3 separate regions of the Homo sapiens genome follow, and regions 1 and 2 are each linked to region 3. The links are contacts of gene promoters, found by promoter capture Hi-C in blood cells and fetal thymus (Javierre and others, 2016). All regions are on one chromosome and are shown on one strand. The core of a region is centred on a gene start or on the middle of the fragment in contact, and the rest is flanking DNA. Distances in the headings are between cores, read along the strand shown.

Evidence for each region. The method cuts DNA at HindIII sites, captures the fragments that hold promoters and counts their contacts. A CHiCAGO score of 5 or more calls a contact.
Region 1: the fragment with the promoter of SCAMP2 here is called in contact with a fragment that was not itself captured in region 3 in 2 of 17 cell types (M2 macrophages and total B cells); the score reaches 6.7 in M2 macrophages.
Region 2: the fragment with the promoter of ULK3 here is called in contact with a fragment that was not itself captured in region 3 in 5 of 17 cell types (M2 macrophages, M1 macrophages, total B cells and 2 more); the score reaches 10.2 in M2 macrophages.

The regions. Positions count from the first base shown.
Region 1 is chr15:74,872,087-74,874,930 of GRCh38, reverse strand. It overlaps SCAMP2 (secretory carrier membrane protein 2), which reads left to right and starts at 1,566. Exons shown (of 9, transcript NM_005697.5): 1 at 1,566-1,732. The coding sequence starts at 1,676. The HindIII fragment of the contact is 8,993 bases long and covers 1-2,844 here.
Region 2 is chr15:74,841,851-74,844,550 of GRCh38, reverse strand. It overlaps ULK3 (unc-51 like kinase 3), which reads left to right and starts at 1,395. Exons shown (of 16, transcript NM_001099436.4): 1 at 1,395-1,547; 2 at 2,131-2,271; 3 at 2,356-2,476. The coding sequence starts at 1,446. It overlaps SCAMP2 (secretory carrier membrane protein 2), which reads left to right. Exons shown (of 9, transcript NM_005697.5): 9 at 1-821. RefSeq lists a silencer at 914-1,633 and enhancers at 896-1,807, 1,876-2,401. The HindIII fragment of the contact is 10,695 bases long and covers 1-2,700 here.
Region 3 is chr15:74,370,402-74,373,135 of GRCh38, reverse strand. LOC124903524 (a long non-coding RNA gene) reads right to left here. Exons shown (of 2, transcript XR_007064709.1): 2 at 1,924-2,734. Among named protein-coding and RNA genes, the nearest start is that of CYP11A1, 4.1 kb to the right of the region's middle. The HindIII fragment of the contact is 3,316 bases long and covers 1-2,734 here.

The DNA of each region.
Region 1 (2,844 bases), core at 317-2,816, 500 kb before region 3:
CTGCGACTACAGGCATGAGCCACCTTGCCTGGCCTGATTTTTTTTTTTTTTTTTTTAACTGAGACAGGGTCTCACTCTGTCACTCAGCTGGAGTGTAGTGGTGCAAAGATGGCTCACTGCAGCTTTGACCTCCTGAGCTCAAACAGTCCTCCTGCCTCAGCCTCCCAAGTAGCTGGGAGTACAGGCACAGGCCACCATGCCTAGCTAATTACGTGTGTGTGTGAGATATGTATATGTATATATATATATATATATATATATATATATATTTTTTTTTTTTTTTTTTTTTTTTTGTAGAGCCAGGGTCCTGGTATGTTGCCTAGGCTGGTCTCGAACTCCTGGCTTCAAGTGATCCTCCTACCTCTGCCTCCCAAAGTACTGGGATTACAGGCATAAGCCACGCACCCAGCCCTTTATGGAAATTAATTGAAAAATTTTAACAAAGTTCTGTGATAATTTTGCCCCCTTTAAACATATCTTTGATTACAACATGAAGAACAATAGACCAATTAACAGCACTGTATTAGTTCAGGGTAAAAATGACAGTGGCTGGGATTCGGTGACAGCAGAGATGAATAATACCAGACAGATCCAAATAAATAAGGTGGATTTGGCCAGACAGTGGTTCATGAGTATAATCCTAGCATTTTAGGAAGCCAAGGCGGGAGGATCACTTCAGCCCAGGTGTTTGAGACGAGCCTGGGCAATATAGTGAGATCCCCATCTCTACAAAAAATCCATAAATTAGCTGGGTATGGTGGTGACCAGCTGTAGTCCCAGCTACTCAGGAGGCTGAGGTGGGAGGATTGCTTGAGCCCAGGAGCTCGAGGCTGCAGTGAGCCATGATTGCACCACTGCACTCCAGCCTGGGCGACAGTGAGACCCTGTGGGGGGCGGGGGCGGGGGAAAGCGGAGCTGTGGAGAGTGAAGCAGCCACCTCCCCCATGATTGAGGCTGTGTTGCTGAATTCCGTGAGTCACTTCATAAATGTTTGATGTCCAGGTTCAAGTCCCAACTCAGGTCCCAAAGCTGATGGGCCCAGGAACCCTCGTCCCTAAAACGATGAAACGACATCAGAGGGCGAGCAGCCCTAGAAGAAGCAGGCTCAGCTCGGGTGGAGGACTGCTGGATGGTCCTGGCACTTCTCTTTCCCCGAGCACGTTCTGCAGAAGAAGCGCTTTCCTAGTTCTCCCAAGGCCTCTGGCCTCACCTGTCACCCCTGTCCTTTGCCCAGGGATCAGTTTGGACTTCTTCCCAAACTTGGTCTACAGAGAAGTGAAGGGGCTGTTTCCTGTCCCACTTTTGAGAGTTTGCTTTAGAAACATAAAATTGGAAGGTGTCAGATTGATAGGCAGTTGGGAAGGACTCCGGCCACGCCTCTGGCTCCGTAGACGCTCCGCGCAGCCAAGACCCCTGAATCCCCAGCAGAGCGAAGATGTGGACGGAAGCCGAATGCCCACCCACCGCACTATTGTGGGCTGGGCGGGGGGGGGGGGGGGGGGGGCGGAGCGACCCCGGTGCCGTCATAGGGCCACGCCCTCGGGGGAGGGCATCGCGCCTGCGCCAGAACCGCTGCCTCGCTCCCGGAAGTGGAGGGTCTACACGAAGCGCCGCTGGGTCTGGGTGCCCGGAGGCAGCAGCGTTCGCGGAGTTCGCCCGCTGGCCCCCGATCACCATGTCGGCTTTCGACACCAACCCCTTCGCGGACCCAGTGGATGTAAACCCCTTCCAGGTAGAGCCCCTCTCCCGCCATCCAGCTCTCAGATTTCCCTAGGGCCCACGGCCGCCGCCCGGGCCTCTCGCTAGAGCCGGGAGACGTGGCGTAGGAGGGACGGGTCATCTGCCCAATGGGAGAGCGGGCTTTGAGGTCTGGCCTATCGTAACGCGTGAGGGGCGCGACTAGCAGCAGGTGGAACTGCAGAGGAGGCGGGGCGCTGAAGTGTTGGAGACAGTGGGGTCTTCTAGCACCCGGAGGCTGGGCTGTGCTAGGGAAGGGGACTGGAGCAGGTACGGTCGGACCCTTCCGGAAGTCTCCTAGCGTCAGGGAGAAGCGAAATGTGGCTATCGCATTCCCTCATTCTTGGATAGACACCTGTCTTGAGTCACTTTAGAAGAGGGGGTGACAGCAACATATGAGGAGGTGGTGAAGCCTCTGGTGGAGGGGAAAAATGTGGGAAAAGCCCAGGACACCTGCCACCGCTCCACCACCAGCCAAACTAGTGTATAAAGTACAGGAGAGCCCCTGAGATTTGTCAGGGAAAGAAAGATGGGAGAGGGCGGGAAGGTAGCCCAAGTTGAAAAATGGCCTTGATAAGAATTCCACATTTTGGCCATGGGTCTAGTTTGGAGTGGGTTTTGACCAGATAGGAGAGCCCGGGTTAGGGAGAGAGGAGAGGTGCGGGGGACTGTGAAAAATTCTGGACCCACAGGGAACGTTTGTCTGATGGAACTGTGTGTGGTGGCAACATAGTTGAGATGCACTGACGTGTGAGCTGGCCTGACTTTTTTTTTTTTTTTTGAGACGGAGTCTCGCTTTGTCGCCCAGGCTGGAGTGCATTGGCACGATTTCCGCTCACTGCAACCTCTGCCTCCCGAGTTCAAGCAATTCTCCTGCTTCAGCCTCCTGAGTAGCTGGGACTACAGGCGTATGCCACCACACCCAGCTAATTTTCATACTTTTAGTAGAGACGGGGTTTCACCGTGTTGGCCAGGCTGGTCTCAAACTCCTGACCTCAGGTGATCCATCCGCCTCGGCCTTCCAAAGTGCTGGGATTACAGGTGTGAGCCACCACGCCTGGCCTGACCTTTTGAACAGCAATCAAGGAAGAAACAATCTTCCTGCTT
Region 2 (2,700 bases), core at 146-2,645, 470 kb before region 3:
TGCCTCAAGCTCTTCTCTGCCTCATAAACGGATCCAGAGAAGGCTGGTTGCCTTAAGCTCTTCCCTGCCTCGTGTTCCTGAGAAACGGATTAATAGCCCTTTATCCCCCTGCACCCTCCTGCAGGGGATGGCACTTTGAGCCCTCTGGAGCCCTCCCCTTGCTGAGCCTTACTCTCTTCAGACTTTCTGAATGTACAATGCCGTTGGTTGGGATTTGGGGACTGGAAGGGACCAAGGACACTGACCCCAAGCTGTCCTGCCTAGCGTCCAGCGTCTTCTAGGAGGGTGGGGTCTGCCTGTCCTGGTGTGGTTGGTTTGGCCCTGTTTGCTGTGACTACCCCCCCCCCTCCCCGAACCGAGGGACGGCTGCCTTTGTCTCTGCCTCAGATGCCACCTGCCCCGCCCATGCTCCCCATCAGCAGCATCCAGACTTTCAGGAAGGGCAGGGCCAGCCAGTCCAGAACCGCATCCCTCAGCAGGGACTGATAAGCCATCTCTCGGAGGGCCCCCTAATACCCAGTGGAGTCTGGTTCACACCCTGGGGGGTGTGTCACTGTGATGGGACACGTAGGAGTCCACCCTTAAAACCAGCACCCTGTCCCTCGAGGCTGCCGAGTGGGTGTGTGGACTGGGGTGCCTTCCCACAAAACTAGCCTCCGGCTCTGGGCCCGAGACAGCCGCAGGCCCCAGCCACTGAATGATACTGGCAGCGGCTGGGGTTTTATGAACTCCTTTCTGGTATTTTTTCCCCTCTATGTACAAATGTATATGTTACGTCTCAATTTTTGTGCTTAAGTAAAAATAAAAACATTTTCAGACAACACGGGTCCACATGTCTGGTGGACTTGGGAGGACGGGGCAGCCCACAGGATTAGGGGCTGGGCGCCGCTGCTAAGATTGGAGAGCGGGGACAGTTAAGATGCAATAAATAGGTCAAGGCCCTTCCTCAGAAAAGTGAAAAGCAGCTGGGAGGCCTGGGAAGCCAACGCGGCCTCTTCCAAAGGCGCCTTCTCGTGCCAGTAGCTCTCCTTTCAGAGCTGCGGGTCCTGGGGAGGGGCCCTGGGAGCCTCCCGGACGCCGTCGCCCCCACACACGCCCGCTCCGCCGCCCGCGCCCTCACGTGGGCGATCTCTAGACGCCTCTGCGCCCGCTAGGAGTCCCCGGAGACCACGCCGGCCGTCCTCCGTTGTTAACTTCTAGGCTCGCGGGGCCTCCGTATCCCCACGTGGGCCCTGCAGGAACTGGCGGGGCGCGTGACCCGGCGAGGCCCAGAGACAGGGGAGGGGCGCCGGGAGCCGGGCGGATCCGCGTCCCCGATGCGCGCTGCATTTCCGGCGGGCGGCGCTGGGGGCAGCGTGGAGCCACCCAGTGCTCGGCCCGCCCCGCAACCCGCCGGAACCGCCGCCCGCAGCGAGGAAGCGCCCGCGCGGGCGCAGGCGGCCGGAATGGCGGGGCCCGGCTGGGGTCCCCCGCGCCTGGACGGCTTCATCCTCACCGAGCGCCTGGGCAGCGGCACGTACGCCACGGTGTACAAGGCCTACGCCAAGGTGGGTGCCGGCCGATGGCCCCGTGCCCGCCCGAGCTAGCTCGGCTGGTGCCGGCCGGGGAGACTCTGAGAGGTTAGCGACAGTGTGGGAATAGTTAGGGGCGGGAGGCCGGCCTCGCCCCAGCTGACCCTCGGCGGAGGTTGGAGCCGACTGCCACGCTTAGGTCTTAAAGAGCGCACCTGCACCCACCTGCAGGGTCAGTGGCTGAAGAACAGGCTCAAAACAGGTTACCTGGTGGGCTGGGAGGAGTCTGGGACTGGAGCCAGTTGGGAGGCAGAGTGGGCGGTTCTAGAACCCTGAGTGACATGCCTCTGCCGGGAGCACTCCAGAATGCAAAGAAATGGATCAGCTAGCCGAGGGTTGGAGAAGACCAGGCTGAGGCTGTGTCGGGAAGCCAGGATTCCAGAATCAGCATTCCTCACTGGCCTCACAAGGGAAAGCTGGGAAGCCCGGTGCTGGTGTGCAGTAGGTAGACCCGGGGAGGGGCGGGGTGGGGGAACAGAGGGAACCAGATAGAGCCTTTCCAGTCAGACAAGGGTCCTGGCCCCCTCAAGGCAGAGTCCCCAAATCTCCTGTCTCGCAGAAGGACACTCGTGAAGTGGTAGCCATAAAGTGTGTAGCCAAGAAAAGTCTGAACAAGGCATCGGTGGAGAACCTCCTCACGGAGATTGAGATCCTCAAGGGCATTCGACATCCCCACATTGTGCAGCTGAAAGACTTTCAGGTGTGAGCCTGGGGCGGGGCCGCTGCCAAAGGGAGCTGGAGAAGGGACACTCTCTTCAGGCCGCCTCTCTGCCTCTAAACACAGTGGGACAGTGACAATATCTACCTCATCATGGAGTTTTGCGCAGGGGGCGACCTGTCTCGCTTCATCCATACCCGCAGGATTCTGCCTGAGAAGGTGGCGCGTGTCTTCATGCAGCAATTAGGTAAAGGCCTGTGACACCAGCCTGACACTCTGTCCCTTGTTCTCTGCCCCCCACCATCCCACCCCTCCCCCAGGCTTAGAGCCTTGGCACGCATTGCAGCTGCCTCCTGCACAGCCTGAAATTTTATGGTCCTGTTTATCTCATACACTCAACCCTTGCTCAAGGACGCTGTGGGAGAGATGAGGGGGTAACCCCTCTGTGGGGTGTTCAGGCTTCCATACATA
Region 3 (2,734 bases), core at 235-2,734:
TGTTGGCCTGGTTACTTATGTACTGCCCGCTAGAGAAGCCCGCAGCGGGGGCCTCCCAAGGGCCCATGTGAATATTTCACAGCTGAAGAAAAAATGATTGGCTCTCAAATAAGAACACTGCAAAATGGAAATCAATAAATTCTTAATCAAGTGTCCAACTGTAACATTATATCAACCTCATTAACTGTTAAATTTAGTATTCATAAAAATTTCATTACATCTGAAAGAATGTGTGGGCTAGGTTTTTCTCATTTCACAAGAATTCCCAATTGTAATTTAAATCAGTCACTCCTAGCCAAATGGTTTCAAGAGCAAAATTATAAATATCCTTTCAAAAACTTTACAGCAAATTTTTAATATTTTAACATGTTTGCACTGAGGAAGTGAAGTGAAGCTGTAAAAATAAAAATGAAGCTGAACGCGGTGGCACGCGCCTGTATTCCCAGCTACTCAGGAGGCCGAGCCAGGAGAATTGCTTGAGCCCAGGAGTTCAAAGCCAGCCTGGGCAATGTATAGAGGGGGACAAGGAGCCACAGTGTGCACCCAGGCAGGGAGTGCCTGGGTACTCATTCACCCTTCAAGTTGGGGTGTGGGGGTTCCTCTGGACTTACAGGAGTGATGAGGATTTAGAGGAGCAGGGAGAGGCTGCCCTGGGTAGCTAAGATTAGGGCTCAGGTTCCAGTTCACCATGTGGAGTTAAGTTCTCATAGGAGGGCTGCAATGGGTGGGCCCCTAGGAACAGCCCTCAGAGATGCCCTTTGCAGAGGCTCCCAACCTGGCAACACTCCTTTGCCGGGGGCTCTGGGCCTTTGACTTCTGGGTCCAGTCTTCTCCCCTCCTTTACCCCAATTACTCCTGCCCCTAAAGCTATGTCAACTCTGTCCCGTATTTCCCTTCATTTCACTCTTGTTGGACAGAAGGAATAGCCCAGGATCCATAAAAAGAAACAGTCCCCAAAGCAGGGACCCCTTTCCTCCAGGACACAGAACATTCAGTCTTCATAATCCCTGACTACATAAGCCCTGGCCCGGGCAGGAACAATGTGTTTCATTCCTTCCTTGGGAATGTCTCTTTACCATATGGCCACATGACCCCTCCCAAGGCCAAACAAACAAACAAACAGGAAAAACCCCAAACAGCAAAAGGAATCTATTTAATAATAGTTTTAACAGCCACATCTGATACTTAAGCTGAGAAATGCCATAACCTTGAGTCCCATCTCTAGGGCTGATTTCTCTCCAAACATCTTAGGTCCTTGCCTCTCCCTCCTCCCTTTAAACTGTTAGAGTGGGGTGACACCGAAACAGATGAAATGCCCTCAGAGAAAGAAATAGGGTGGAGTCGGGGGGACCATCTGACTTAGTGAAATACCCTGAGCTGTGCATGTGAAAACAAACAGGGAAAGAATCACCTAATTTTCATGTATGGTGTCCATACCCTAAGCTGAGCAAGAGGGTGATGTTTAAGGCAATGATATTAGGTGGGCTACTTTGAGAACCTCTGAATCTTTTAAGTGCTTTTTTTTATCTTGCAACAGCTCTGAGAGGCAGGTCTGATTATCTCCATTTTAAATATGAAAAAATTAAGTCTCAAGTAGCTCAAGTGTCTTGCCCTATGCCACGCGACCACTCAGTGGTTGAACTAGGATTTGAACCTGAGTCCATGTGGCTCCAAAACCGTTGCTTGTTTCATGATACAAAACTGTATTATTATGTCTATGGTCTGGCCAGCACCTCTGCTAGCGGATGTATTGCCATCCAGAGCAAAACGACATTGTCCAGCCTCCCTGTACCTACCTCCCTGTACCTAGGTACAGTCATGTGGTTACTGAATGGAAGGTCTTGACTGAGTTGTCCAGGTTCTTGGCATGTTAAAGAATTGAACAAAACGCACAAAGCAACAAAAGACAAAGCAACGAAAGAATGGAGTAATGAAGGCACAGATTTATTGAAGATGTGCAAGTACAATTCACAGAGCAAGAGTGGGCTTGAGCAAGTGGCTCAGGAGCCCCTTCAATTAGAGATTTTATTAAGCTAAAGAACATGAACACCCCCGGTGCCCTCCAGAGGCCTCCAATCAGTTACATCCAATGAAGGATTGATCCGTGACCAATTAGAGGCTTAAGTGGCGACTTGGCCTGTGGTTATCACAGAAGTGAAGATGTGGCCTGTATGTTGCCTAATCCTGCCTAGAATTGGCTGTACCTGCTGTGCCTTTTGCTTATGTGAACTGGCTGCACCTGCTCTTCTTTTGTTCCTACCTTAATCCTTGGTTGCCCTAATTCCCTATTCTCCTGCCTCAATGTGGTTAAGTTCCCACCAATCAGATATGGTTGGACTCGTGTGGGACTTTGAGGAAGGGGCTTAAATGAAGCTGGCTCTTCAGGGAGGGCCCCTTTTGGTCTTCTTGAGTTCTTCCGCCTTCTGGCCAGCAACACGGTTAATGCTCCAGCAGCAGCTTGGACCATCGGGTGGCCTTAGAAATGCCAACCAAATGTCTTCGTGGTGAAGCAGGAAGATGGAGCCTGGCATTTTGCTGGGACTGACACACTCACCCTGGACTGCCCAGCCTTGGACATCCTTTATGGGAGAGAGAATACACTTCTATCTTCTTTAAGTCTGTGATTTGGATTTTCTGTTTATCCATCCAAGCTGCCTGCAATGAATAAAATCATGTTCCCCGTCCTAGGCAACGTTTAGATGGGTCTAAATGTGTACACCCTCTACTCTGAGAA